Linked DNA regions of Homo sapiens: regions 1, 2, 3, 4 and 5 are each linked to region 6. Evidence: promoter capture Hi-C in human tissues and cell types (Jung and others, 2019). All regions are on one chromosome and are shown on one strand. Each heading gives the region's core, a stretch centred on a gene start or on the middle of the fragment in contact. The rest is flanking DNA. Distances are from core to core; before and after follow the strand shown. Region 1 has its middle 100 kb from the start of LINC01734. Region 2 overlaps LOC107985448 (a long non-coding RNA gene). Region 3 overlaps DHX35 (DEAH-box helicase 35). Region 4 has its middle 89 kb from the start of DHX35. Region 5 has its middle 350 kb from the start of LINC01734. Region 6 holds the start of MAFB (MAF bZIP transcription factor B).

Region 1 (4,689 bases), core at 21-2,520, 1.6 Mb after region 6:
GAACTGGAGGCATGAAGGAAGCAGGAGGAAATGAATTATCTCCCTGCCTCCCTCCCCTTACACTCGTAGGCTTTCTGAGCTGCCTGGTGAGCCCACACCTTCCTCCCACCTGGTAAGTGTGGGGACCAACTACCGGGACCCCTGAGGGGTCCCTTTGCCTCCCTCTTCATCATCGCTCGACTCAATGATCCCAGGCCTAAGGCGGCCTGAGTGGGAAACCGGCTCACCTCCATAGCTAGCCCACACTCTGCACCAGCCCTGTTTGGCCTGTGGGCTTCTCAGGGGGACCCCTGCCTCCATCTGGAAAGAACATGGAGCGATCCCTCCACCCCACACTTTTGTGTCTTTGTAAAATGTTTAGTGAAAAACTGCCGACTATGTAAATCAGAGATCATTAGAGGTTGGGTTTTTCCTTAAAGAATGGATTCAGCGAAATGCTGTTTTCTCCCTGGCTCTGGGTCTCTATTTAGGGGATTGGAGCTCTGCTTATTTATTTATTTATTTATTCATTAGCTGGGCCCACAGTCAAGGAGAAGAGAGCAGGGCTATTAATCTTTCCTGTCATCCATTCACAGATGTGGAGTTCACACCACAGCAAATGTGAAGTCAGCAGTACACAACCACAAGGTGGAAATTTCAAGAGAAACAAGCTTAGAGGAACAAAAAAAAAAAATAGGAAGGGAATGGGGGTGGGGTGGGGGAGACGGAGATGCAGAAACAGAGCACATTTAAAATACAGTGTCTGAGCTTCCCTGGGCGCTTGTGTGTACTGAGGGTAATCTTGTTCTCAGCATGGAGGTGCCATTGATATGTTAATAATAATTTTCTTTTCTCTTCATCCTAAGGAAATGAAGTTTGCAAACTGATTCTGATGAAGGAGGTCTGACTCCGTGTGTGTGTGTGTGTGTGTGTGTGTGTGTGTGTGTGTTCATAGACTGAGACAGACACACACACACTCCCTTCTCTACCTATTTATGGCATCAACTGAGTAGATTCTGGAAATCTCCATAGAAAGGCAAATAGTTGAAGGCTTTAGGTGCCCCTTTTGGGATTGATGTGATTGCCAGATCCTGGGGTGGAGAGATGTCTCAGCGGCTAAAGAAAAAACCTGGCAAAGTCATAAGCAGCTCTCACACTGAGTCCTAACATGGGGAGAACCCACTCTCCAGCGTCCCTAAACCAGTGCTGGTCAGGGTGCAGTAGATCAGAAAAATCAGCCCTCAAGCCTCCTAGAGCTGCTGTCTTCCTAAGCCTGGTGATCTGCACGACTCCTGATGCATGTGTGCCCAATCCTGCTGTGGAGTCGGGCTGGCTACTCCCCTGCCTCAGTTTCCTTCTTGCTCTGTTTCTGCTTTGGAGGCTGAGGTCCTGATACTGTAGCTTTGTGCTTGTCAGCTCTTTCCCCCACTGGGCCTGGAGAGAATGGGTGGCCAGAGTCCCAAAGTGTACCAGCTTATCTGAAGATTCCAGAAACCCTAGTGCTGTACCCACTGCTCAGGCCAGGCTCACTGTTCATTGATCCTAACCTGGTGCAAACCTGACCTCATCCTTTACTTTGAGCTGCTGCCATTCCAGTGGGGTCCTCTCCCCCTCCTCATCTGCATCTTCTGCCCTCTGGTCTGAGATGCAGAAGTCCTAGCCACGCAGCCCCACCCAGGCATAGCCACATCTCAGATGGGGAAGCCTGAGTCCAGTTCTGCAGGGCGTGCGGTCAGCACAACCCTGAGAAAAAGCAGAGAAAGGCTGCCACTTCAGTGGTTGCTCAAGTCAATAACGTCTCTCATCAGAATGTGAGCTCCTTAGGGCATTGAGACCATGTTTATTCATCTCTGCTCCTTGACACTTAGTGGATTCTCGGTGAACATTTGTTGAATTGTGTTGAGTCCCGGGTCAAAATCAGAGTTGACAAAAAGGCTGGCTACCTGCGAGCAGTGACTAGGTTTGTGCAGAAAGTACTGCGTGAGCTCAAGCTTTCCCTCTGGGTTAAGGAAAGGATGGCAAGTATGCTGGGTGATCAGTGGAGGGCTGTGTTGAGCAGGATTCTGAGGCTGTGTCTGGATTCAATGGGAAGGTTTGGTGATCCCTTAGCAAGTCTGCTCTGAGCACAAGAAGGGGCAGGATGATGCTTGCGCCTCACACTAAGCATTAAAGGGTAGCTGCCCTGAGTCATGGAGCTTTGCCCCAAGTGTGGATTTGCAGGTCCTGTTGGAGCCTGAGAGCAAAAGGCACAGGTTTGATGGGAAAAGGAGGAAGAACCAGACATGGAGCTCAACCCACAACTCAAGGAGCCCTGTCTTAGGTGGGGGCCCCAGTAGGAGGCTGAGTGTGGGCACAGGACACTCTGGGACTGGAACAAGTCTTGAAATGCATAGCACAGGGACCACAAGTTAATGAGGCAAGGCCAGGCTACACCCCCACCATTCTAACCACAACCCATCCCAGCACTCATAGGATGTGGCAAACACACGTGAATCGTCCATCCAGAAAATCCCTGCCTCCAGAAATTCCAGCTCCTTTATTGCCATGTTCATTTCACATCTGTAAAGTAGAAATATTAAAATCCAGTCCTAGAAGGAATTGAGAACACATTCATATCAATAGCACAGTGCCAAGCACAGCCCACCGCTGATGGATGCCACCTTCCTGAATGGCGACGAGATGCCCAACATGCTACCAGCACTCTTCCCAGCCTCTTCTCTCAGCTCCCACCACCCAAAACCCCATGTTCTCTCTTACCTCTGGCCTCTGTTCATGCTTTCCTCTGTTGGCAATCTCTCCCCACACCTTTGCCAAAATTTCTGAACTCACTATTTAGGTCTTGGTATAGACATTGCCTACTCCAGGAAGCCTTCCCTGATCCTACTTCCCACCAAAGCCAAGCACTTACTTCTGTCACAGTATTGTCACGCTACATTGTCATTGCCTATTTATCTGTTCATCTGTTTATGTTTCTCTTTTCCACTAGACAACAGACTGGCAAACTTTTTCTACAACAAGCCAATAGTAAATAGTTTAGGCAGTACGGGCCATAGAGTCTCTGTCACAACTACTCAGTGCTGCCATCATAGTGTTAAAATAGCTATAGACAATATGTAAACAAATGAGCATGGCTGCATTCCAATAAAACTTTATTTACAAAAACAGATGGTGGGTCATATTTGGCCCACAGGAAATAGTTTACCCAACTTTGCACTAAGAGGAAGAGCTTTGCAAAGCAGAAAATGTTTCCTATTCAACCATCCCTTACATAGTACCTAGCACAGAGAAGGTACTTGATACTTAATGAACAAAGGAACAGTGTTAAAAAGGTTGTTTGCAAACCCTGTCATGGCCTGATAGGAATAAATGAACCCATCACATTCCTGAAGTATAGAAGGGCTGCCTAAGCATTATGCCTTAGCCTGAATATGGCTGGGACCACTGCATGTGCTAGAGAGTGTGCTGAGCCTGGAGTGTGCCCAGGGTACAGGCCACATCTCCAAGCAGGACACCCTTCCCTGTTCCTCAATCTTGCCTCTCCCTACCTGTCCAGATCCCTGCCATTCCTGATAGGTGGGCACCAATATTGCTTCCCCTGGTACAATTGCTTCTCTTGGACACCGCTTCTGCCACCACTGAGTATGCCACCTCCTACCCGCTGCCAGCCACAGTCACTGCAGATGTCTAGGGCCACAGGGGTTCAAAGCCCCAAGGTGAAGAATTGTGATTTGGGGGGAAAAAAAAAACCCTCTTCCATGTTTAATTCCCCCAGAAGGGACTCATAGCAATGGTGCTTAGGCCCCAACATCTCGCAATGTTTTATTGGAATAATCAACTCTCCCCAGGGACCAGTCATGAGTCAATGGTGGGGATAGGGGTCATACAGGGAAAAAAAACAGAGACTTCCATCATGGAGTACTCAGAAATGCCCCTCTCTTCAAGGACTGGGATTGTGTTATTTGGATAAGCTCCTTGGCCCAGTTCTCTATTACCCCAAAGGAGCTCACTCTCCTAAGAATCCTCAGTTCCTCATTTCAATAGCCCCTGCTGATTCAGCCCAGCCATCTTTCAGACATTCCTAGATAAATACAAAACTTCACTTGCACACAACATAGGTTTAACCTCAATACCTCAACCTCCAACCCCCTCTGGGTAAATATGGTAGATTCTGTTTTCAGTCTCAATTCTTACTCCACCATACTAAGATTATACATCTCAACTTTTGCCACGTAACTTGCAGTGCTTGCACTGCTCTCCCACTGGGAGAGAAGCTTATGTCTCTACCCCCATGGATGTTTTGCTTGGCCACGTGACTCACACTGGCTGATAGGATGATAGTACGCATGACCAGGCAGAAGCCTCATGTGGGCACAGATGGTTTACTTGCCCTCTGAGCTCCTCCTATTCTCCATGGGAAGCTCATGCTCTGGAGAGCCACTGCTCCAAGGAGAACAAAGCTCTGTGGAACAGATCTGAATCCCACATCCTCCCTGGAGTCCAGCCTGGCCCAGCCAAAATCCCCTGAACCCCAGCCAACCCACAGACCCATAAGAAAGAAAAATAAATGCTTGTTGTTTACCACTGACTTTGAGGTGTTTTGTTATGCAGCATTACAGTAGCAGTGACTAAAATAACGAAGTAGGAAACTTGCTCCAAACCTTCCCAGTGGGCTTCCAGGGACTGATTTACCAGGTTAATAAAATGCTTGGA
Region 2 (4,695 bases), core at 1,943-4,442, 1.5 Mb after region 6:
GAAGAACAATCTTTAATATTATTTTTCATTATAATAATTCTCACCATCACTTACTAGGCCCTGACTTGCTATGCTCAGCACTTCATATCTATTATTCCATTAAATTCTCACAACAATTATTTTTATTTTATAGAAAATGAAGCTGAGGTTCAGAGACTTACTCAAGGTTATACAGAGAGTAAGTGACAGGAATAGGACACAAAACCAAGGCTACAGTCTTGTAGCCTTTTGAGCTTTAGAGCTCACAGTCTTGACTACTGACTTGTCCATTGACCCAACACCTCTGATTCATCTCAATTATCACCCCAAATATTGTTTGGTTTGCCCTTGATTCACCTCCAGAAGATTCACCTGGCCTGCCTAGCTTTCCATCAAGCAGCAAACCTGCCAACAGCTCCTCCCCACATTTCTTTTTTTTTAAATAATGCCCTGTCCATCAGCAATGAGTTAGGAATGACCTCGTAGCTCAAGAACTGCAAGTCATATTTCTGCGGGGACCTATGAGGGGCTGCCAAAGTGCCTCTCAGGCCTGGCCAGAGTGAGCAGGTAATTAGATTGAATCCACTCTTTGGCTCAGTTTCTTTTCCAAGCAAATCGGCCGTTAAGCAATCCATTCTTCAGGCACTCATACATCACCTGAGAACACCAGGCCATGATGGATGAGCTGGGCCATCAGCAAGGCCCACGATGGATGGCTGTCATTCATCACTGTGAGGAGCCAAAGGAGTCATGAGTTACTCTGGCTGTGGCACCTTCCAGCCCCTTTGGGGCCAGAGCCAGGAGGACAGAGGCTGGGAGTGGGGGTGTAGAGCTGGGAAGACTTCTCTGGGAGATGTGTCAGCAACCATAGGAACATTCTGTCTGAGCCACTCCAAAGTAACGAAATGTTTAATGCGGTTTGTTGCTGGAACAAGGAGCTCATAAGAAAAGGAGAATGTAATAGATAAGATCACGGACTTTGGAAATTGTACTTGCCTGATACGTGTCTTTGTTCTGCCTTTTCCTTGTTGTGTAAGCTTGAGCAAAGGATTTACCTCTCAGAAACTCAGCTTCCTCATCTCATTCCAGGTGCTCCTTCACATTTCTTAACCCCTCATAGTTAGTTAGGCTGGGCCATGTGACAAGTTCTGGTTAATGAAACACGTGTGCAAGTAACAGCTGTCACATCTGAATGACACACTAAAAAGTTCCCAGAAGGCTCTCCAACCTCTCTCTTCCCCTGCCACAATAACCAAGAGGTCTCATGCTAAGATATCAGAGCTGCAGAATAAAAATAGCCTGGATGGCTGATCATCTGGAAGGTGACTGCGCTGGAGGGCTGCACAGACCCACAGCTGACATTGAGTCAGCAAGAGATAAACCTTTGTTAGGCTAAGCCATTCAGTTCATTGTTTGTTATGGCAGCATACACTACATGTGTTTGGCTGTTTTGGCATTGCTATAAAGAAATACCTGAGACTGGACAATTTATAAAGAAAAGAGGTTTAATTGGCTCACAGTTCTACAGGCTTTACAGGAACCATGGTGTTAGCTTCTGGGGAGACATGAGGAAGCTTATAATCATGGCAGAAAGCAAAGGAGCAGCAGCCACATCACATGGCAAAAGCCAAAGCAAGAGAAAGAGGTGCAAGGGTGTAGGTATCACACACTTTTAAACGACCAGATCTCGTATGAGCTCAGAGCAAGAGCTCATTTATCACGAAAGGGATGACCCAAACTATTCATGAGGGATCCATACCCATGATCCAAACATCTCTCACCAGGCCCCATCTCCAATGTTGGGGATTACCATTCAACATTAGATTTGGTGGGGACACATATTCAAACTATATCACTAGCCTACTCTGGCAAATACTCCATATCAGGGATTGGCAAACAGCCAGATAATACATATTCTAGGCTTTGTGGGCCAGATGCTCTGTTTCATAATCTTCTTCATTTTGTTTACAACTGTTTTAAAATGAGAAAAAGCATTGTTAGCTTGCAGACCTTACAAAATAAGCCACAGGCTGGATTTGGTCTACAGGTTGTAGATTGTGAACCCCAGCCTAAATCATAAGATTGTTGTGAAAATTAAATGAGATGATGAACACATGCATTTTTTAAATGTTAGCTGCTACTAACTTTAACAGTGGTAATGGTTATTATAAACAGTAATATTTACAACTATGCCAGGAACTCCTGTAGGCATTGGTGATTTTGCAATGAACAAATCATTATGAAACTTATATTGGGGAGGGGGTGGTTATCGTTGTTGTTATGGTGACATCAGTCGTGGCGACGATAGCAAAGGTTATAGGATATTGTAAAAGTTTAATCCAATTCATGGGGCCTAAATCCTTCCTTCTGTTATGATTTGGGACAACTGTCATGGCTGGAGCCTGAAAGAAGCATCCTCTCTGCCCAAGTCCCATGGTTTCCAAGGACAAAATCATCTGGCCATTCCATGTAGCCCTTGTACCATAATAATGATCATAATATTTGACCAGCCCAAGTTCTCACTGAACCATGTCCAATGTTAATGTCCTCCCTGCCACATGCAACCCCAAAACAGTGCTCCAAAAGGTCCCTTTAGCTGCAGAGTGGTTAAAGCTGCCTTGCTCACCCATGTGTAGATCCCTGGTCTGGAAGACGTGCATGCCCAAGATTTGCTGGGGTAAAGATAAAGCCCTCCCTAATGTGTATGGCTTTGAGATGTAGCTTCCGAGTTTCTGTAGTAATTTACAACCTATATTTATTGAGAGCCTGTTATATGTTGGAAACTATCCTATATAATTTATTGACTCATTTGGCATTAACCCAAATGAGACTGAGGGTCAGAGAGGTGATAAACCTCGCCCAACACTACTGTTGAGTGTGGCCAAGGCATAAAAGTGATGATCTTGCTGACTCCAAAATCATTGTGTTCTGCCTGCTACACCACACTGCCTTTCTACAGAGGAAGGACTCATCAACTGTACATTGCAGAAACCTGCACCAAAGAGGCAGAGTTGTTTTTTCTACTGCTGTTTAAAAAGAAAAACAAAAAAAACAAAAAAACAAGAAAAAAAAAAAAGGAATGCCCTTGGGATTTTGATGAGGATAGCATTGAATCCACAGACCACCTTGGGCAGTATGAACATTTTTAATAAGTCTTTCAATGTATGAATATGGGATGTCTTTTCATTTATTTGTGTCTTGTTTTATTTCTTTCACTGATGTTTTATAGTTATCAGTGTACAAGTCTTTTACCTCCTTGGTTAAGTCTATTACTTAGTATTTTTTTCTTGCTGATACTATTGTAAATGGGATTATTTTCTTAATTTCCTTTTCAGATAGTTCCTTGTGAGAGTACAGAAATGTAATTGATTTTTTATGTTGATTTTTCACCCTAAAACTTTATTGAATTTGTTTATTACTTCTAACAGGTTTTTTGTGGAATTTTTAGGGTTTTCTACATATAAGATCATGTCATCTATAAACAGAGATAATTTTATTTCTCCCTTTGTGATTTGAATGCCTTTTATTTTTTATTTCTTGCCTAATTGCTCTAGCTAAGATTTCCAGCACTGTCTTGAACAGAAGTAGTAAAGGTGGGTATCTTTGTCTTGTTCTAATCTTAGAGAAAAAGCTTTCAGTTTTTCAGCATTATGTGATGTTAACTGTGGGTTTGTTGTTGTATTAGTCTGTTCTCATGCTGCTACAAAGAACTGCTGAGACTGGGTAATGCATAAAGGAGAGAGATTTAACTGACTCACAGCTCCACATGGCTGGGGAGGCCTCAGGAAACTTACAATCATGGCAGAAAGGGAAACAAACACATCCTTCTTCACATGATGGCAAGAAAGAGACGTGCCCAGCAAAGAGGAAGAAGCCCCTTATAAAATCATCAGATGTCATAAGAACTCACTCACTATCATGAGAATAGCAGCATGGGGGTAACCACCCCAGTGATTCAATTACCTCCCACTGGGTCCCTCCCACAATATGTAGGAATTATGTTAACTACAATTCAAGATGAGATTTGGGTGGGGACACAGACAAACCACATCAGTTGTATATGGCCTTTATTGTTAGAGCAAAATTTTTTTAAATAGAGAATCAAAAAACAATAAAGTCAACAAAACTAAGAGTTCAGTTCTTGAAAAGATAAAAATTGAAAAACCTTTATCTACACTAAGAAAAAAGAGAAAAGACTCAAAATCAGAAGTAAAAGAGGAGCCATTAAAACTGATGCCACAGACATAAAAAGGACTGTAAAAGACTACTATGAACAATTACATGCTAATAAATGGAATAACCTAGAATTCATAAATTTCTAGAAACATATAACCTACCAAGCCTGAATCATTAAAAAATAGAAAACCTAAGAGACCAATAACAAATGAGGACATTGAATCAGTAATCAAAAAATCTCCCAATAGAGAAAACCCAGGACCAGATGGCTTCACTGGTTAATTCAACCAAATATTTAAAGGAGAACTAACACGAATCCTTCTCAAACTCTTCAAAAAAACTGAAGAGGAAGGAACACTTCCAAACTCATTTTACAAGGCCATCATTACCCTGATACCAAAACCAGATGAGAACACTACCAAAAAGAAAATTATAGGCCAATATCCCTGATGAATGTAGATGCAAAAATTCTCAACAAAACACAAGGAAACCAAATGCAACAATACATTAAGTTCATACACCATAACCAAATGGGATTTA
Region 3 (5,219 bases), core at 2,121-4,620, 1.7 Mb after region 6:
CCTGAAGTCTAGCTCCAGAGTCCGGACACTTCATCACAGCTCAAACTGTCCCTCAGTGGTGAGAAAGCAATAGTAAACCTATCATTTCATCTCCTGAAAGTCAAACTTGCTAACATTCATACATAGTGAATGTGTTAGTCACTTGAGGAAGAAACCCAGAGACAGTCAGTTCACTTGTGACTAAAATATTGGGAGCCACATAAAACTCCAAGTAAGGCAATCTGGCTAAATTAAGAAGGCTGCTGTTGCCTATCTGTTTGGAGAAAGAACACATTAATAGAAGAGGAATTATCAGCACAGTCTAGTCAAAAGAACTCCATGAGTATAAGAACTTGGCACCTTTTGGCTGCTCACACCTGTAATCCCAGCACTTTGGGAGGCCGAGGCAGGAGAACTGCTTGAGCTCAGGGGTTCGTGACCAGCCTGAACAATATAGGAAGACCCTGTCTGATAGATAGACAGACAGACAGACAGACAGACAGATAGATAGAACACAGCAACTTTCACCCAGCACCGTCCAGGAGAAAGAAAGAGACACAGATGCTGGTGGCCACACCTACTCGGGTCATTCCAAGGGCATCCTGTGGAGCAGGGAGAATTCACCCCTCATCAGGGGCTGTATGACATTTCTGTAACCTGTCTTGGCTCTGTACTTCCTGATTACAATTTGGCTTCCCATGTGGATGTGCCAACAGGGACAAAGTGTATATGTCAACTGTGTCCATCTGTACTGGAGAATTATTGCTAGCCATAAATGAACAGTTCTGAATGAATTCTAGTTTGCACTTTGGTCTCTTGTAGCTGAGCACACATCTGTTTCGTGAGCGCTAATAAAACTGAGTGTCTGGATGTGCACTTGGTAAGTAGTAACCATACCAAAATCCTGTCACTGTCTCAGAGGAAGTCAGAGTATTAACTGATGTCTTCAGCAGAAACAACCTCATATTCCCAATTAAACTTGTTTAAAGGAGTGACTTTAAAAATAAAGCAAAAATTGGCCATATGTTGGTAATCTGTTATATAGAAATTAACTGCTATTTTCTCTACTTTTCTGTATATCTGAAATTGTCCACAGCTGAAAGGAATAAAGGGGAAAACAAAAGTCATTCTAATTCCTCCAGTTTTCCAGTATGTACGATGCAACTGAAAAAATCTTAAGGACTTTCAAGATTTATAAGGTTAACTAAAAAATACACAGTATGAAAAGTCATCCCTTACAGTAAGGGTTTCTCTGAGCTCACTGTGTTCTAGAAAGAGGCCATCATTCCCTTCAGTGCTGAGCATAAAGCTAATGCAGACACACGATTCAAGCCCACAGGTTGAACATGATTATTTGACGTACCTTGAATACCGGCAGCTTCTGCCTCTGCTGCTCTATGGAAAGGGCAGCATAAGGGTTGTAAACAACCGTTGTCCCAGAGTTTTCAGCCAGACTTTGTCTCTCTTCAGAGATGCTTACACCTGGCCCCTCTGTACCTGCAGCAGAAATGTTTTTTTTTCAGATTCTCTGATACAATGAACAGAAAAAGGTGTTAAGTTTATAAACTTTCAAAGATGAAGATATACAGAAGAAGCAATACTTTTTATCTCAAACTACTCAAAGGTATTCAACCTTAACTTTAGGAAAGAATCCAGAAAAGTGCCTACGAGGAACTAAAAATCTTCCCTAAAAGCTTCACTGCAGTGTCAAAAACAAACAAGACAGGGTTAGGTGCAGTGGCTCACGCCTGTAATCCCAGCACTTTGGGAGGCCGAGGCGGGCGGATTGCCTGAGCTCAGGGGTTAGAGACCAGTCTGGGCAACAAGGTGAAACCCCACCTGTACTAAAATACAAAAAATTAGCCAGGCGTGCATGGCGGTGTGTGTCTGTAGTCCCAGCTACTCGGGAGGCTGAGGCAGGAGAATTGCTTGAATCCAGGAGGCAGGGGTTGCAGTGAGCCAAGATCGGGCCCCTGCACTCCAGCCTGGGCGACAGAGCAAGACTCTGTCTCCAAAAAAAAAGAAAAAAGAAACGAGATGGCAGTCCCACTGGGCTCCAAATTGGCCACTCAGAACTGTGTATTACAGAGCACAGTGTCTTTACTTCTGGCCTCCATGTCCATGTTATTACTGAATTCTTAACAGAAGTGAAAGAAACCCAGTGGGAATTAGCTGAGGTAAAAGGATGAATCTTGTTACTGTAGGATGGCAATAAGGCTCAGAGATGACAGAAACTGGGCACTCAAAGCAGCCATGGCTTTCTCCTTCTCTCATCTTGGCACGTCTTGCAGGTTCCTTCCAGCCCCTTAGGTTGGCTACTGTACAGGAGCTGGAAAGACGGCTGCCGGCAGTGCCAGGGTTCACGCTTACAACTCCTCTACCAATCATTCATCGTGGTCCAGCAAGGACCAGCAAGGATGGACCAAGGGCCCACTCCATGTCACGTACCACTCTAAGCACTAGAAACACTGCAGTGAACAATACAGATGCCAGCCCTACCCTCACGGAGCTCACTTGCTTTTTTAATTCTTCCTCTCAGTGGAAAGTAACTTGGTGCATGAAGTGGTCATAAGTGCTATGGAGAGAAATAAAGACAACGTAAGGGGGACTGGGAGTCCCAGGTATGTGTTGTAATGGGGGGTGGGGGAGGCTCTTTTATACTGGACAGACAGGGACTGACTTCTCCCAGCTTAGGTCCAATCCCCACCCCAATACAATCAACCATGGCCAGTGGAATGGGATGAGGTAAATGACAGTCCCCATTGGAACCATGGAATCGGGAGTGGATAGATGGGAAATGCTATTCTCAGTAACCGCCATGCTGGGCAGATTAAACAAGAGATCTTCACCCCGGCTTCTTGCTAATAACAATGACAAACTGGTGATCATGATGGTGAAGAATAGGGAAGCCATATCCCATCATGAAAACCTGTTGAAGGTTCCATACAGTTTTAGCTCAAACAGAAAAACAACTCAGGAGAAACATAACTTTAAATTTTGTGAGCAGCTTCCATAACTTTTCATGCTGATTTGCTGCTGTAACTCTAGGACAGAACTAGGAGTAATAAGTAAATGACACAGGGTTCAGAATTCAACTCAATGTAAGGAAGATATTTCCAAAAGGTCACACTTTTCAGCACTGGAGTTTGCTGCCTTGTAAATGAATAAAAATCCTCCCTAGATCAAACACATGCTATACAGCCTCCTGCTGGGGCACTACAGTGATAATAACCAATAACCATCATCTCCTAGGTCTTCTGAACTCAGAATCTGTGATGCTAAGTGAAAGCACAGGAGCTTTGTAACAAGAATATTCAGCTCAGTGACTTACTTTTACACTTTTTAGGGTTCTCAGATTGCTTCAACAATCTGATAAAGGCTATGAACTCCCTCTCCTAAAAAACACACCAGAATTTACCAGAATATAAAATTCGGGGGGGTCCGTAGACCCCCTAGAGCTAAGTTTAGAATCACTGCTTTAGATCTCTGACCCTTTTCCATTTACTTCCAGGAACAGAGTTGTGTTTCAGAGGTTCAAGATGGCCAAAAATCAGGTAAGTGGGGCACTGTCATGTTGCTTTTGCCAAAATGTTGACCTTCCTTTCAACAAGACAAAAGATGGAACAGGACCTGGAACAATGCCTGTCCTCAAAGAGACAGGCTTTCTTTCCTTCCCTTCTTGTCACTACATCTTAATAATTCCTTGTAATTGTTACTCAAGAAAACAATGACAAAGAATACCTTATCCTTTTCTGCTGTGTTTTTGTCCTGAATTCCTGCCTTTTCAAATCATGTTTTAAACCTTCATATCCTCTCTGGAATATTTTAACATGTCTTTTGTACTACCGTATTCCTCCCTTGTCTCTAACCTACAGCCCCAATCTATCTCTTCTATTATCAGCTTTTGTTTTTGGAGATGGAGTCTCTGTTGCTCAGGCTGGAGTGCAGTGGCGAGATGCCAGCTCACTGCAACCTCCGCCTTCCAGGTTCAAGCGACTCTCCTGCCTGGGCATCCCGAGTAGCTGGGATTACAGGCACGCACCACCGCACCCAGCTCATTTTGTATTTTTAGTAGAGACAGGGTCACACCATGTTAGCCAGGCTGGTGTCGAACTTCTGACCTCTGGTGATCCACCCACCTCGACCTCCCGAAGTGCTAGGATTATAGGCATGAGCCACCACGCCCAGCTGAGCTCTTTTATAAGAACAGCTATGTCAGTTGATAAACAGTATACCTTCTCCTCATAAAAGACTTCCTTCAACCAAACCAGAACATCAGGGCTGCTTTCCCTCTATAAACACCCCTCTGTGGCTGCCTATGATTGATTTTTCCTTGAGCGTACGCTCTATGCTTAAGGGAGTAACAACTTTATAACTTTTGCAAACTATGAACATCTTCATTTCCCTATCTTAACAAGGCTGATATCCCTAATTCCTCATTCCCTTTAACTTGGTTTTTAAAAATTTTACTGGTGACCCATTAGTGGGTTATGAAATCAATGTAGTATGTCATACCAGCACTTTTTAAATAATGAAATAGAATAGAAAGCATCAGAGCACATTCCAGAAAGCAATACTGTTTATGAACAACTTTTTCTTCAGTTGTGTATGTGTGCTATATCTTACTGTGGGTCAAGTCAAAAAAAGCTTAAAACCTATTGTAAAGTTTTCGTCATGCACATGGTCAACAATCATGAAATATTTATCAAATGAGCAAACGAAAATGGGCAGGCCCTTCGGATCCACGTGTACTTGCAAATTAAGTAAAAGATTTTTGTAGAAAACTCTCAGGCAGGTCATACAAGGCCCTTAAGTCACACTCCTAAGGTAGACACCACAAATGGGTATCTTAAGGTACCCAGACATGCTATTGTTAAAATGTTTTAAATCATTCATTTAAAACAACACATAAAATTTTCCCATTCAGATCTGGATATTAGGCTTCTTAAAAAAAAAATTGGGCAACTCTGAACCCATATGATAACAATTAGGTGGACCTGAGTACAACTCCCTATTTTAGAAAGCATATGTAAGCTCTACTGTAGATCTCCACTGTACATACTATCCAGTGTATGCACACTCTGCCACAGTCCCCACCACTCCCTATTACCTCCAGTAAGCAACTTCACTCACTTAGACTGTCTGAAAGACCTCTGTAATCACAGGCTCAGGCCTACAGGATATGTTCATGATTTGAATGTCTAGCCTTATATCAGCTTCCCTGACTTTCACCTTGCATT
Region 4 (4,479 bases), core at 1,017-3,516, 1.6 Mb after region 6:
AATAATCATGACTGTCATTACAAATGTGGCACCTTTGGGACTACAGGCAGAGAAAGTGGTGATATCAGTGAAACAATGGAGAAAGAGTTTAACCCCCAAGCACACATGCTCACCCCTCAAAGGCAGATTCTGTGTGCTACGGCACATGCACGTATACGCACACATGCAAGGCACATTTGTGCCCACATATGTGCCATAGCATATGCATGTGTAAATGCCATGTGATGCGGTGCACGCATGTCTATGCACACATGCAAGGCATATTTGTACACATGTGCTGTAGCACATGCATATGTGTGCACACATACCATAAGCAAATGTAGGTTGTAGCATGTGCACGGGCGTGCAAAGACATGTGCAGGCACATTTGAATGTGTGCGACATAGTGTGCACATATGTGTCTGCACATGCCCTGTACAAATGGCATGTGCTGTAGTGCAAGCACACATGCCATACAAGCACCAGGGTTCTGTGGTCCAGACCTGGGGCAAACCATGAGTCCCAGGCCAAACGGCAGCCGAGCCAGGCCTCCCCACAGTCTGTCCTCCCTCCCACTTGCCTCAAGAAACAAAGACAGTTTATCAAGAACTCCCCAGTAAGCGGTTTTTTTAAGACCTTCAGCAGCAGCCGCCGGGCTGAGCTGAATGTCTCACTTTATTAGTGAGTTTGGCCTTGGGTGTCTGGCTGTTTGATCAATCCTGCCGGGGGTCAGTGATATTTCCTCCCAGCCCCCCCGCCCCTGCCCCTGCCCCTCTGCCGCACCTGATGAACAGCTTGCCCCTGGACCGCTGATCACCTATTGATTTTCCAGCCCGAGGCTACATCCGCCGCCAGCTGCCATCTCCAGCCCTGTCACCAGGACCACTTGGTGACTAACTGATCCCCCGGTCCCCTCCCACCCCCACCCCTCACTGCACACCCAGCTCCCCCACTCATGGCCCAACCTGCCCTTCCGGCTTTTTCTGTGCCCAGTTCCTACCCTCTCTTTCAGGGCTCAGTGCTGGGACCCTGGACACCAAAATCAAGTGACTCCCCAGCTAGCTTTGATGCCTGGCTGCATGACCTTGGACAAGTCACTTTAATCTCCTTGTGCCTCAGTTTCCTCATATGTAAAAATGGGGCAATATTGGAAGCTACCCATCATGTATATCAGGCAGCAGTTTCCACAGTGTATTATGGGCACCTCTGGGGTCTCTGAGACCCTTTCAGATGGTCCATAAAATTCAGAATAATGTTGACAATAATACAAACATGTTATTTGTGGGGGTTTTTTGCTCTCAGTGAAAGCTTTTTAAAACTCCCAGTGGAATATTACAGGGGCTACATGACATGTGGTATCTCAAAAACTTGCAGATGCAGATATAAAAATCAAACTGTCTTCTATTAAGGCTGACATTATAGAGATCTGCAAAAATATAAAACAAAGCCACACTTCCTTCTCTTTAAATTTTGTGTGTTGTGAAATATAGTTATTTGTCATAGGAATATATTATTTATGCTCACATGTAGTGTTTATTATTGCTATTTTAAATAAATTATAAATAAATATTATTAAAATTTGTTTTGACTCCTAAAATGGTAATTAGTGATAGATACAACCCACATGAACAAGAGCTTTGAGGGCCTTGATCATTCTTAGGGTGTAAAGGGTTCCTGAAGCCAAAAAGTTTGAGAACTGCTGGTACAAGATGCTAGCACTGTGTCTGGCTCACTGTAAGCACTCAGTAAATTATTATTGCTATGATTTGGAGTTGCTATCATTGGGAGTTAGAGTGATTTCTCCAGTCAAGCTGGGGAGGGGATTTGGGGGTGCAGATTTGGGGAGGTTGCCCCTGATTAGGGACATAAGTGGCACAAAGGTGAGATCCCCCCTGCCGGCTCCTAGCAGCCCCCTCACCTGGCACTCACTGCCAGCTTGGAGTGTCCAAAGCCATGGCCAAGGGAAAGGAGCACGTGGCTGATCTTGGCCCTAGCAGCTGGGATTGGCTGCACCTCGAGATAAACCTCCCTCAAAATTGCTCAGAGGGAGGCAGTTGGTGCAAAGAAGGAAGAGGCTGGAGAAAGAGATGTAACAATAGCTACTCCTCGATTAGCCTTACCATGTGTCAGGCATCATTGTAAGCACTTAAAGTTAAGTCATTTGAGCCCTGCGACAATCTTAGACAGTTGTTTAAAAATGTACATGGGATGATTTTGTTGTAATCAGGTATGGGAAGATGACAGACACAGAGTCAACTGCCTGAAAGGAAGATTGTATTACTTACAGTTCCCAAGAGGAGGGCACAACATTCAGGGCCACCTGAACAAAATGAACAAAAATGCAGAAATGGGGTGACCTGGGACAGTCTGGGCATCCCAATGGCCCCTCAGATTTACCATGGCCCATCTGCTTCTCCTGGCAGGCCCTTGGGTCTGCAAGAGCCCTGATGGTGGAGAGAGGGCTGCGCGGGTGGCCCCCTCCTGAGGGCTGGCTTTTGACCCCTCTCCCGCACCCACCCCAACTCCACTCTGAAGGACCCTGGCAGGCCAGGTCAATAATTAGAACTCCATAAAGGTTTGCTGGTGTTGATTTTTGTCGTTGCTTTTTGAACTGGGCCTGTAAAATGGAGAGGTTCATACCTTCCTTGGTGAAGTGGTCAAGATTTAAAGACTTGGTGAGTACAGTATAGCTTCTTGCAACGTGGACAGAGAAGGGGACACCGTCACGAGAGGTGCGGGGGCTGTTTTCACTCCGATGCGCTCAGACCGGGACTGAGCTGCTGTGGACGTGCCCGGTGGGCAGGCGGTGAGCTCGCACCGGGCAAGACACGGGTCTGACCCCTCCCCGCACTCACCCCCTCCCTGGGCGCTCGCAGGACCCGAAGCAGCGCAAGGGCGTCCTGGCTGCCCAAACGCGGGGCTCCAGCGCCGCCTGCCGGCCGCCGTGTGCAACGCCGACCCGGAAGTCTCGCCGTCTCTGCCTGCGCTGGGGACGCGCGGGACACCCGGTTCCGGGAATCCCGGTGGGGGTCCGACCTTGCTTTGGGCGCAGGGAACGCGGCTCTGCAGGACGGGCTGCCGCCGAGGGCATCGGCAAGCTTCGGGGTGTGGACCGTGCCTGCGCCCGCTGCATCCGTTTTGGGCAAGGCTGTGGCTTTTTGAGCCTCAGTCACTCTTTGCGGAGGACGAACAGGGTGGGAATTCGACTTCTCCCACCGCAGCGTCCCTGCAATCTCGTTCTCGACGACGTCCCAGCCTCCCTTCTAGTCCAGTCCCACCCCCAACATTCCTCCTACCCTACTCGCTGGGCACTTCCCGCAATTCCAAATCCCGGCGTGTGGCTCATCCACGTGAAAACCCTTCAGAGCTCCTGGTTGTCGCATAAAACGTTGCTTTCATATTAAAACGAACATGGATTCTGGGAGGCAGAGGCTGGACGATCCCTTGGGCCCAGGAGTTGAAGGTTACAGTGAGCCATGATCCCCACTGCACTCCAGCCTGGGCAACAGATCGAGATTCTATGTCAGAAAAATAAAAAATACATAAAAAGTAAATAAAACTAACATGGATCAGACAGAATGAAATTGAGAGAATGTGGAGCTGCCCAGCTCAGAGCCACCAAGCCCCTAGGAGTCACAGGGGAAGGAGACTCCCAGAGCTCCTGCAAGCCAGCCAAGAGGGGGCCCATTCTCCCAGGGAAACAGCATTGTCAAGGTGGGCTCCATCTCCAAACCAAGCTCCAGAAGCCAGGTCAGGAATTGGGACAGGGCACAGGAGGGACAGCTTGTCTGTACTCCTGCATGTCTGGGCCTCAGCTGACAGTGACCCAGAAGGCTGGGCCCTGGAAGAGCTGGGCCAGAGGACCCACTTCTCAGATGGCATCATGAACCACAGCCCATGAGTAGCCTCTCCAGCATCCTGGTTATCAGGTAGCTGGCTTGCTCGGGTGGCAGTGTCCCAGCAAGCCAGGCAGGAGCTGCATGGCCTTTCGTGACCCAGCCTCAGAAGTCACACCACATCACTTCACACAACCCTGGGTCAAAACCACTACCAACTTGGCCAGATTCATGAGAGGGACATAGACCCCACCTCTGCATGGGAGGCATGTCAAAGAATCTGTGGGGGGAAAAAAAAAGGCACGGCACCAGTCCATCTATTTTTATTTTTTTTTTTTTTAGACAAGGTCTCGCTGTGTTGACCAGGCTGACATGCAGTGGTACAACTGATCACAGCTCACTGCAGCCTCAAACTCCTGGGCTCAAGTGACTTTTCCGCCTCAACCTCATGAGTAGCTAGGGCTGGAGGCACACATACCACACTCGGCTAATTTTTTAAATTGTTATTTTTTTGTATAGACAGGGCCTATGTTGCCCAGGCTGGTCTCAAACTCCTGGCCTCAAGCCATCCTCTAGCCTCAGCCTTCCAAAGTGCTAGGATTATAGGCATGAGCCACCATGCCCAGCTCCATCTAGAAACTATGGTTTTGTGGCCTAGGGAAGG
Region 5 (5,104 bases), core at 105-2,604, 1.1 Mb after region 6:
AGAAGACAGAGACAGTTCAAATAAAAAGAAAAGGAAAACTTCTCAGAAATCTATCTTTGTATACATAATATTTTTAGCTATAGTTTTGACACTTTACTGATTTCTTATTACTGCTGTAACAAATTACCATACAGCAATTTATCTTATATTTCTAGAGGTAAGAAGTCTAAAAATGGGTCTTATGTGGCTAAAGTCAAGGTGTTAGCAGGGTTGCATTCCTTCTGGAGGCTCCAGGGGAAGACCTGTTCTTGGCCTTTTCCAACTTCTAGAGGCTGCCCACATCCCTTGGCTTGTGGCCCCTTTCAGCAATGACAGCACTAGATCTCTGTTTCCTTGTCTGAATCTCCTACTTCCCTCTTTCACTTATAAGGACCCCTGTGATTACACTGGGCCACAGGATAACCTCCCCAACTGTAGATCCTTAAATTCACCATCTATGCCAAGACTCTTTTGCCATGTAAGGTAACATATTCAAAGCTTCCTGATATAAGACATGGACATCTTTGGGGGACCATTATTCTGCTTAACACAGATTCATTTCCATGCAGGCATTTTTTTGAATAATATGACAGGGTTTAAATATATGTTAAGTAAGAATTATTTGCAAATCCTTCCTCCCCTTTTTTTTGGGAGAAAAGCCATTATAATGGGTGGAGAAAAAGCTTGAAGAAGCTGGAGGGAAGGTCAATTAATCCACATGATGATGATGATGATGATAGTGCTGAACATTTATTCAGTTCTTAAGCCAAACAATGTTCTAGGTAATTCATATAAACTCACTTACTTAATCATGAAAAGCACCCCAAGAGACTGTGTGTTAGTGTTATCATCCCCATTATACAGGTTGGAACTGAGGCACAGAGAGATTAAGAAATTCACCCAAGATTATCCAGCTAGGCAATTTCAGAGGCAGGCTTCAAACCCAGGCTTTGTGGCTCAAATGTTCATTTTCTCATGTCCTGACTTACACATAGAGATAACCAAAAGAAGAAAAAAATAGAGGTGAGGAAGATGGAGGAGGTTAGACAGAGAATGGATAGTAGCATGAACAAAAAAACTCAGGAATGAGAATATTTTGGAGGCAAAAAGAGAGAGAGGAGAGCAAAAATTTGGCCAGCTACTGGAGGGTTTGGACTTTAGGAGAAGGCTATTGAGAAGGGAATTTTAGGAACTTTTCCCATGATTAGCAAAACTCCCGCCTTGGTATCCAAAAGGAACCATCACAGTAAAGACCAGTATTGCCTGTTGATGCATATGAAGTTAGTTAGATCTTTGTCTCCTTTTGATTTCTGTCTGGTATTTTCCTGAGGCCAGCCTGGAGGTGAGAGAAAGGAGGCTGAGTTTAACTCAGGGATCTATACTAGTTATTTTCTCTGCTGCTTTTGATTGGTTTCCTGCTTTCCTCCCCCTTTTTAATGCTACATCATGAGCATTTTCCTGTAATAAAAATATTTTTCAGAAATGTGACTTGGATGGCTGCCTAGCATTTGTCATTTGAATGCTCCATAACTGTTTGTGTAAGCGACAGTAATTGTGTAGGGCCAGGATGAATGGCCTCATTGAAGAGCGGAGCTGTCCTTGGGAAATGAGGTGGTGTTTGTACCCCTGTGCCCAGTTGCAAGAGTCCTTCTCAGCCTTGCAGCATGTATTTGGAACAAGGTATTTCCTGAACAAGGTGTTTGAGAAGTAGCTGTTGCCATGTAACAATGACCTAGTGTTCCCTTCATTCTCTGGAAGAAAAAAATAATGGATTTTTTTTGTCACTTGAGGTCATTATATGAATGTTGCATGCAGTGGCGACATCATTGGAACAGGCACACCAACACTCTGCGTGGAAATTTTACATGCTTCAGGTTGTACTGAACTAACTTTCATTAGGAAGGAACTGAATCATGACTTAACTAACTTTCCTAAGGAAGGAAGAGCTATCAAACGGATAGTCTACAAATCAGATACACTCTCAGAAACAAAGTGACTTCATCATCCTTAATATTTTTATTACCATTATTATTCACTCTAATAATAAGTGCACTTACTGAATGTGTGCTATTTGGTAAGCATTGTATTGCATGCTTTAAGCAAATTCTCTCTTTTAATCTTCAAAATAAACAAGCTCATAGGACAAGTATGAGCCATGTTGGGCCTCAAGCTCAGGTCTATTTGATCCCAAATTTCATACCCTTGACCTCCACTCCATGGTCTGAACTGAATGACATCCATACATAACTCATGATGTAACTGAGTTACGTTACCAGAGCTGACTGCTCAGGAGCACTGTGTTACTCCTGTCTGGCAGGTATTCTCCACCTCTTTCCACTGCAGTCCCACCCAAACCCTCACTTTCAGGGGCTGCTTCTTTGCCGTCTGCATCTCCCACTGAGGACCAGAGCCCTCCTTAGAGTGAAACAGTAGTTCATTAAGCCTGCCACCTGAATATTGACTGCTAATCTCTCCAATCCCACAGTGCACTGTTAGATATCAAAGCCTGGATAAGCAAACCTAAGGATCACTCTATTCTCCCAGAGTGGCAGAGAAAACCTTGAAGGGCTAGATCCCAGGCCAAGCCTCCTTAACCTTCCCCATTTTGTATGATGGAGTCCACTGTCCTGGCCCCTGCTGCCTTTAGGTTTTTGTGTACCATGCCAATCACAAACACACACCCCATTAATTCATGTGTGAGTCTGCTAATATGCTCTCTGCCTTGGTGTCTAGAAATGGTTTCAGTGAGGGGGTGAGGTGAGGCAGGCATTGAGAAGGTGAAACATTAGGCGTTCATTATAGGTAATGCTTTAGTAGTGCTCACTTTATTTTCAAGTAAAAATCCTATTACTCATATATTCTCTAGCTGCATGCATTCTGATATTTTTTATATTCAGAATTGACTATAAATTTAGTACTTTATTGCTAAATAAGGTAGCTAATGTTAATTAGGAAGGTTTTAGTCTATTTTATCTGTATCCTAAATAGGATGAGAAAAAAAGTCTAGTATCATTGCACTGGAAGTCGAGAGTGCCAAGATCCTAGAAAAAAGTGGTAATCACTTTTTACTTATTATAATTCATTAAGCTTGTAGGAAATATTTAGATACTTAATTGGCATTTAACAAGATAGCTATAGAGAGTAAATGAGACATTAAATTCTCTTCTTAAATGCCCATTAGGTTTGCTTTAGAAATTAATTGATATCTAATTCATTTGCTATCAACTATTTTATCCTTCGCCAGCTGAGAAGTTCAACATATTAATGATAAATAGAGGGAGGATAAGGGGGAACTTATAGTTGCTAAGCTCCGTGTCAGCCTAATTTAAAAAGCAAAGGTCCTCAGGGCACCTTAATCCTACTAAAGGGACATTGTCACTGGGTTTGGAGGGAGAGGGCTTCTGACCACTTGCACACTAGGAACTGTCCAAGTCCTCAGCTTCAAAGTCCCATACAAAGATGGTGAACAAACAGCCACATAGGGTAACCAGGAAGCCTTTCAAGGAGGAAGAGGTAACATATCTGCACATGCTTAAACTAAACTAAGTATGTGTAAATGGCATCCAGGTGTGATTACAAATAAAATGTAGTAGGCAAGTTGACTGCCTGTAAATACCTGATGGTCAGTCCTCAGAAACATGGAAGCAATATGTTTTGCATTACTATAGACCAGGGTTCCCCAATCCCCAGGCTGCAAGCTGGTGCTGTCTGTGGCCCATTAGGAACTGAACCTCCAAGCAAGAAGTGAGCAGCAGATGAGCAAGCATTATCACCTGCACTCTGCCTCCTGTCAGATCAGTGGTGGCATTAGATTCTTACAGGATTGCAAACCCTACTGTGAACTGCACATGCCAGGGATCTAGGTTGAGTGCTCCTTATGAGAATCTAACTAATGCTTGATGATCTCAGGTAGAACCATTTTATCCTGAAACCATCCTACCACCCGACCCCGACCTGTGGAAAAACTGTCTTCCATGAAACTGGTCCCTGGTGCCAAAAAGCTTGGGGACCACTGCTCTATACAGTAGCAGTGAACTAAAATTATAGTGAGGGGACAGAAAGATGAGCTTCCCAGATCCCTCTGCAAAGAAGGACTCATTGCCCCCGCCCTTGGAAGTGGCTCCTTTAGCATTTGCCTCAACTGCACAAAGCTGCATATCTGGGGCACATTCTTCCTATGCCAGCCCACAGCCAGTAAATAATTATAGGAGGTATAGTTTCAGCCCCCCATGGGAAAAGTTTGATGGGCCATATGTGTTGGGAGCCAAAAAGGCCAAAGGGATTGTGACCAACTCCACATTCCACTGGAGGCTATATGATCAAACAGCAAACTGTTTATCATAAATGCAGGATGTGAGCAAACTCACGACTGCACCTGCTGCCAGGAGGTTTGCTGAGGGCCATTACTCCCTGGCGCCAGGCTTCTTGAAGTTATCTACTGGGAAATCTAGTGCCTGTTGTTCAGAGGATGCAGTCTCGCAAGCCTGCTGTGAACCAAATGGCTGACTGACAATTACCCAAAAATCACCCCCCACCTTTCTCATTATCTCTTTTACCTAATAAATTCAGAGGGCTGAAAAAGCTCAGGGCCTTTGTCCACTATAGGCAAGAAGCCCCCGACCCCTTCTTCCAAATATACTCTCTTGTCTTTTATTCCCACGTTGGCCCCCTTTGTTCAGTCCACCAGGGATCGTGGTTGGCTACACATATGTGCTCTGAAGAGAGACAGAGAGAGAGAGAGAGAGAAACATGAGAGAGATGAAAACATGACACCTCCAAAGAATCACAATAATTCTGCAGTAACAGACTGCAAAGAAAAATAAATGTACAAAATGCCTGAAAAGGAATTCAAAATAATATTAAGGAAACTCAACGAGATATAAGAGAATACAGAGAAACACTTCAATGAAATCAGTAAAACAATTCATGATCTGAATGAAAAATTCAACAAAAAGATAGACAGCATTAAAAGAACCAAACAAAAATCTTGGAGGTAAGAATTCAATGAAAGAAATAAAAAAATACAACTGAGCACTTCAAAAACGGACTAGGTCAAGCAAAAGAAAGAATTTCTGAACTTGGAGACAGGTGTTTCAAAATACCCCAGTCAAGAGGTGTTTCAAAA
Region 6 (5,204 bases), core at 1,070-3,569:
TGGGCCACGGAAGTCTTCGACGGCCAGTGTCAGGCAGAGCCGAGGGGACGTATGGGCGGGGGTGGAGTGGGTCACAGCTTGGCCTGTCCATCTTGGTGCCCGCGCAGAAGTCCACAGTGGCAGAAACACTCTGGGAGCCACAGGTCTCTTAGGACCCTGAGGGAGGGTGCTACCAGCTCTAGTCCAGTCGGGACCAAGAGAGTCAGGCGTGCTTGTCCCGCCCTGGCCGCCTGAGGCCGGAGCCATACATAGTCTGCACAGATCCGAGACACCCGGTCCCGAGTGATCTGGAAACGAGTGTGCTCTCACTGCGTTCAAACAAGACGAGGACATTTACAAGGTGCGAGTCCCCAACCCCCAGCTACTGGCAGGGGCTGCGCAGCGGCACCGCCCAGGCTCTCTCTCCAGGCGGCCGACTCATTTCTGCGGAGAGCACGCTTCTCGAAGAGGGTTGTAGACGCGCTCTTCCAGCATTTAATTTGCCACCCCACAAGATTGAGTTAAGTTTTAGTTAAAATACACTCATTTTATTAAAAATAGGCGGCCCAATACCACGCCGTACCCCAGCCTCTCCGAGGGCGCAAGAGAATAGAGAGTTTTCAGATTAATTGGAGGCAAATATTTTACCTTCTAACATTTAAAAATAATCTAGGCGCGTCTGCACCGGTGTGGCTCACGCGACCCCTACGCGCGAGGTCAGTCGGGCTGGTCCAGCGCAGACAGCGGCCGGGACTCACTCACCCAGTGCGCGCCTCTCCTGCCTTTCGCTGCGCGCGCCCAAAGCTAGAAAGAAGAAGGTGACGCGGGAGGCGGGTCGGGTCTCCGGGTCCAGCGAATTCGCGATCTATCCGGTTTCGGCGCCTGAGCCGAGGTCTCAGAAAGAACCCGTTAATTCTAGCCATCCTGGATCTGGGTAGGGAGGGTGCGCGGCTCCCAAGCCCAGTCTGGATGCCTAGTGCGGTGTGCTTCGGTCTCCCCGTCTGCCCTCCGGGGAGGTTTCTCACCCGGTGGCCCTGGGCCGCTTCACTGTGGCGCTTCCACTTTTGGCTACCGGCCTTCCTCCGCCCAGGACCTTCCGGCCCAGGGAGCAGCCGACGGGCACCCCCGAACGCTGGGGCACGGAATTTCAACGGGGCGACCAGAGCGGAGCTCGCGGCTCGAGGCTCGCGGCTGAGTACGAAGACGGGACCCGAGGACCTGTACATCGCTCGAGGGGAACCTGTCCTGGGCTCTGGTGCACACATAGTATGCGTTCTGGGCTGGCTTGGGTTGGGCCAGGTAGGGGAGACCTGGCTGGGTACGAGGCGCCGTCCAAGCCTTCCGGCCGTGGGCCGGGCGGTCGCGGCGCCTTTGCGCACAGTGGCCACTTGGGGTCGCACTTTATGCCTGTTTGAGCCTCTCCGCGGCGGGCTGACGCCGGGATCTGCTTAATCGTTACAAAACGTTCAAACAAAAACAGGGCCGGCTCCCCAGCAGTGGAGAGCTACTCGGAGCACCGTCCCGGGCCGGCCTCGGCCCCGAGGCTCCGGGGGCTCAGGATTCCGTGCGTGTGGCGGGGAAGAGGAATTCAGAGCCTTTGGGCTGCTGCTTTTCCCGTCGCCTTCACTGTGAACATTGTGCGGTGGGGTGAACGCGGGGAGCGGCGGGGCCAGTGGAGTCGAACCTCAGGGCTCTGCGACTGCACCCGCCAGGAGGGGCCCTCGCTTGGCCTGAGAAAGGTCCCCTGAGGTTAAGAGTTGGGTCTGAACACAACTCTCGGAGCCTCGAGCCCGCCCTCCCCAACATACAAATACGCGCAGATCTCCAGAAACAGGAACGCACGACACACACGGCCAGAAGCCGCGAGGACACACAGAGCGTCGCCCACTGGGCGGGGGCCGCTTGGGAACAAAGGGCCCAGGAGGCGTTGTCCCGGCGCTCATTCTGAGCCTCCTTGGGGGTGACACGGGATGGGGGTGGGGTGCAAAGGGAACTGAGGGAGGAGAGTGCGCGAGGAGGGGAAAGCGGTGATTTGGCCTAGAGGTGGGGCGCGCACTCCAGGCGAGCGTGCGTGGGCCGGGACCTGCAGGGTACGGGGGTGGGCCCAGGCTGGCCGTCCCACTCCGCTCCAGCGCTCCGCCAGGCCTCCGCCGCTCCGGGGCCGCTCGGGCCGCCAGTCAGCTGACGCGGGGGGCGGGGGAGCTGTCAGGCGCGCCCCGCCCTGCGCCGCTGGGCCGCGGAGGCCGTGCAGCTATTGGCCCGCGCACCGGGCCGCCCGGGCCCCCGCACCCCAGTGACATCAGGAGGCGATAAAAGGCTGCGGCGCCGCCGGATCCAGCACAGCTGCACCGCCGAGCTGCGAGCGGCTGCGAGCGAGAGAGCGTAAGAGCAAGAGAGCTAGAGAGCGAGCAACGGGCACTCGCCCCACGCCTCCCCTCAGCCCCACCGCGCGCTCCGCTTGCCTCTCCACCCCGCCCGACTCTACCCGGCCCGGTCCCTGCGCGGGCACAGCCCAGAGCTCTGGGGCGGTGCAGGCAGCCTCGGGACTCTCCGGCGCGCCGCCGCGTCCCCAGACAAAGGCTTGGCCGGCGGCCCCGGCCCGCTGCGCCCTCGCTCCCCGCCTCCCCAGCTCTTCTCCGCTCTTCCCCCCCGCGCTTGGCTCGGCGCGCTCCGGCCGGCCGCAAAGTTTCCCGGGCGGCAGCGGCGGCTGCGCCTCGCTTCAGCGATGGCCGCGGAGCTGAGCATGGGGCCAGAGCTGCCCACCAGCCCGCTGGCCATGGAGTATGTCAACGACTTCGACCTGCTCAAGTTCGACGTGAAGAAGGAGCCACTGGGGCGCGCGGAGCGTCCGGGCAGGCCCTGCACACGCCTGCAGCCAGCCGGCTCGGTGTCCTCCACACCGCTCAGCACTCCGTGTAGCTCCGTGCCCTCGTCGCCCAGCTTCAGCCCGACCGAACAGAAGACACACCTCGAGGATCTGTACTGGATGGCGAGCAACTACCAGCAGATGAACCCCGAGGCGCTCAACCTGACGCCCGAGGACGCGGTGGAAGCGCTCATCGGCTCGCACCCAGTGCCACAGCCGCTGCAAAGCTTCGACAGCTTTCGCGGCGCTCACCACCACCACCATCACCACCACCCTCACCCGCACCACGCGTACCCGGGCGCCGGCGTGGCCCACGACGAGCTGGGCCCGCACGCTCACCCGCACCATCACCATCATCACCAAGCGTCGCCGCCGCCGTCCAGCGCCGCTAGCCCGGCGCAACAGCTGCCCACTAGCCACCCCGGGCCCGGGCCGCACGCGACGGCCTCGGCGACGGCGGCGGGCGGCAACGGCAGCGTGGAGGACCGCTTCTCCGACGACCAGCTCGTGTCCATGTCCGTGCGCGAGCTGAACCGCCACCTGCGGGGCTTCACCAAGGACGAGGTGATCCGCCTGAAGCAGAAGCGGCGGACCCTGAAGAACCGGGGCTACGCCCAGTCTTGCAGGTATAAACGCGTCCAGCAGAAGCACCACCTGGAGAATGAGAAGACGCAGCTCATTCAGCAGGTGGAGCAGCTTAAGCAGGAGGTGTCCCGGCTGGCCCGCGAGAGAGACGCCTACAAGGTCAAGTGCGAGAAACTCGCCAACTCCGGCTTCAGGGAGGCGGGCTCCACCAGCGACAGCCCCTCCTCTCCCGAGTTCTTTCTGTGAGTCGTGGCCGGTCCTGGCCCCCGCCCTTGCCCCGGCCCGGACTCCCTGTCCCACGTCCCTAGTCCCAGACTACCCCGGACCCTGTCCCTGCCGCGGCCCCAGCCTTGACCTGTTTGACTTGAGCGAGAGGGAGGAAGGGCGCGCGGGCCGCGGGCGACGGGCGGGTGCGCGGGCGGGCAGGGGACCTTGGCTAAGGCGAGAGTAGCGCACGCCAGCGCCGCCTCCTAGACTCGAGCAGAGCCGGAGAGAGAGACGAGAGGGTGGGAGGTCCCGGAGTAACTTCTCTCCAGGCTGAAGGGCGGCGAGGCATAGTCCCGAGAAGTCACCAAGGCCATCTGGAGACTCCTGGCTTTCTGAACTTTGCGCGTTAAGCCGGGACAGCTGCTTTGCTGCCCGGAGAGTAGTCCGCGCCAGGAAGAGAGCAACGAGGAAAGGAGAGGGACTCTGGCGTCCCGGCAGGCGAGAGGCGAGGCTGAGCGAAAGAAGGAAGGACAGACGGACCTGTCTGTCAGAGTTCGGAGAACACTGGCTCTCAGCCCTGAGACACAGGCCTCAGTTAGGACGCTCGGCGCCCAAATCTCATCAGTTTTATTGCCTGCTCGATTATATAGAAAAATACAAAAAATCTGCATTAAAAATATTAATCCTGCATGCTGGACATGTATGGTAATAATTTCTATTTTGTACCATTTTCTTGTTTAACTTTAGCATGTTGTTGATCATGGATCATACTCCCCTTGTTTCTTTGGGTGAGAAGGGATCGCAGTTTGGAAACTCCGGCGGCTGCGTGCGGGGTTTCAGTCCCAGCTGTAGGCTTGTAAATACCCGCCCCGCCAAACCGCATAGAGAACGTGGCAGCAAGCTGAGGGTCTTTGTTTGGGTTTATTATTACGGTATTTTTGTTTGTAAGTTAAAAAGAAAAAAAAAAAGAAAAAGTTCCGGGCATTTTGCATCAGAAAACAACTTTGTCTTGGGGCACACTTGGAAGTTGCATGTTTTCTTTCCTTCCCTTATCCCCATTCGGTCCTCTTTTTCCTCTCTCGCTTTAGTTTTCAACCTTGTTGGTGCTGAGAGAGAGAACCGAGAGGTCCCAGTACAAGGGCAGGGCAGGGCAGGGAAGCTGCCAAGCTCCGCACCCCAGAGGAGTGTTCTGGACTACAGCCTTGTCTTATGGTCAAATTGATACCCTTAATAAGAAAGGAAAGGAAAGGAAAACAGATCCTCCCCTCTGCTTTTTATTGTAACCAGAATCACCCTGAGGTCCCTTCTGAACCCTCTGGGCCTGCGCTAATTGTAGGAGCCACAGCGCTCCTAGGGTGAGAGGCTTAGCCATCCCTGACCCTGGCAGTGCACTGGTAAGCAGACACTGCACTGAACCAACTGCTATGCTCAGAATGTACCAGAAACCCAAACATTGGCAAGTAATTTTGCAACTTTCAAGTGCGTTCTTTAGACCAATGCATTGCGTTTCTTTCCCTGCTTTTGAGATAGTAGGAAGAGTTCTTGGTGGTGTCCCCCCCCTTCAATT

What was found. Contacts are between HindIII fragments. The study calls those that stand out against the background at their distance.
Region 1: a fragment that was not itself captured here is called in contact with the fragment with the promoter of MAFB in region 6 in 1 of the 25 tissues and cell types used here (dorsolateral prefrontal cortex).
Region 2: a fragment that was not itself captured here is called in contact with the fragment with the promoter of MAFB in region 6 in 1 of the 25 tissues and cell types used here (dorsolateral prefrontal cortex).
Region 3: a fragment that was not itself captured here is called in contact with the fragment with the promoter of MAFB in region 6 in 1 of the 25 tissues and cell types used here (dorsolateral prefrontal cortex).
Region 4: a fragment that was not itself captured here is called in contact with the fragment with the promoter of MAFB in region 6 in 1 of the 25 tissues and cell types used here (dorsolateral prefrontal cortex).
Region 5: a fragment that was not itself captured here is called in contact with the fragment with the promoter of MAFB in region 6 in 1 of the 25 tissues and cell types used here (heart left ventricle).

Annotation. Positions count from the first base shown.
Region 1 is chr20:39,118,575-39,123,263 of GRCh38, reverse strand. No RefSeq gene overlaps it. Among named protein-coding and RNA genes, the nearest start is that of LINC01734, 100 kb to the left of the region's middle. The HindIII fragment of the contact is 3,681 bases long and covers 1-3,110 here.
Region 2 is chr20:39,161,376-39,166,070 of GRCh38, reverse strand. All of the region lies in intron 2 of LOC107985448 (a long non-coding RNA gene), which reads right to left. Among named protein-coding and RNA genes, the nearest start is that of LINC01734, 61 kb to the left of the region's middle. The HindIII fragment of the contact is 3,814 bases long and covers 1,286-4,695 here.
Region 3 is chr20:38,965,338-38,970,556 of GRCh38, reverse strand. DHX35 (DEAH-box helicase 35) reads right to left here. Exons shown (of 22, transcript NM_021931.4): 2 at 1,343-1,476. Among named protein-coding and RNA genes, the nearest start is that of DHX35, 5.6 kb to the right of the region's middle. The HindIII fragment of the contact is 5,080 bases long and covers 831-5,219 here.
Region 4 is chr20:39,048,680-39,053,158 of GRCh38, reverse strand. No RefSeq gene overlaps it. Among named protein-coding and RNA genes, the nearest start is that of DHX35, 89 kb to the right of the region's middle. The HindIII fragment of the contact is 5,314 bases long and covers 1-4,479 here.
Region 5 is chr20:39,570,707-39,575,810 of GRCh38, reverse strand. No RefSeq gene overlaps it. Among named protein-coding and RNA genes, the nearest start is that of LINC01734, 350 kb to the right of the region's middle. The HindIII fragment of the contact is 4,339 bases long and covers 1-3,523 here.
Region 6 is chr20:40,686,351-40,691,554 of GRCh38, reverse strand. It overlaps MAFB (MAF bZIP transcription factor B), which reads left to right and starts at 2,319. Exons shown (of 1, transcript NM_005461.5): 1 at 2,319-5,204. The coding sequence starts at 2,705. The coding sequence ends at 3,676. RefSeq lists enhancers at 153-1,128, 1,129-2,106 and silencers at 2,057-2,366, 2,387-2,456. The HindIII fragment of the contact is 9,965 bases long and covers 1-5,052 here.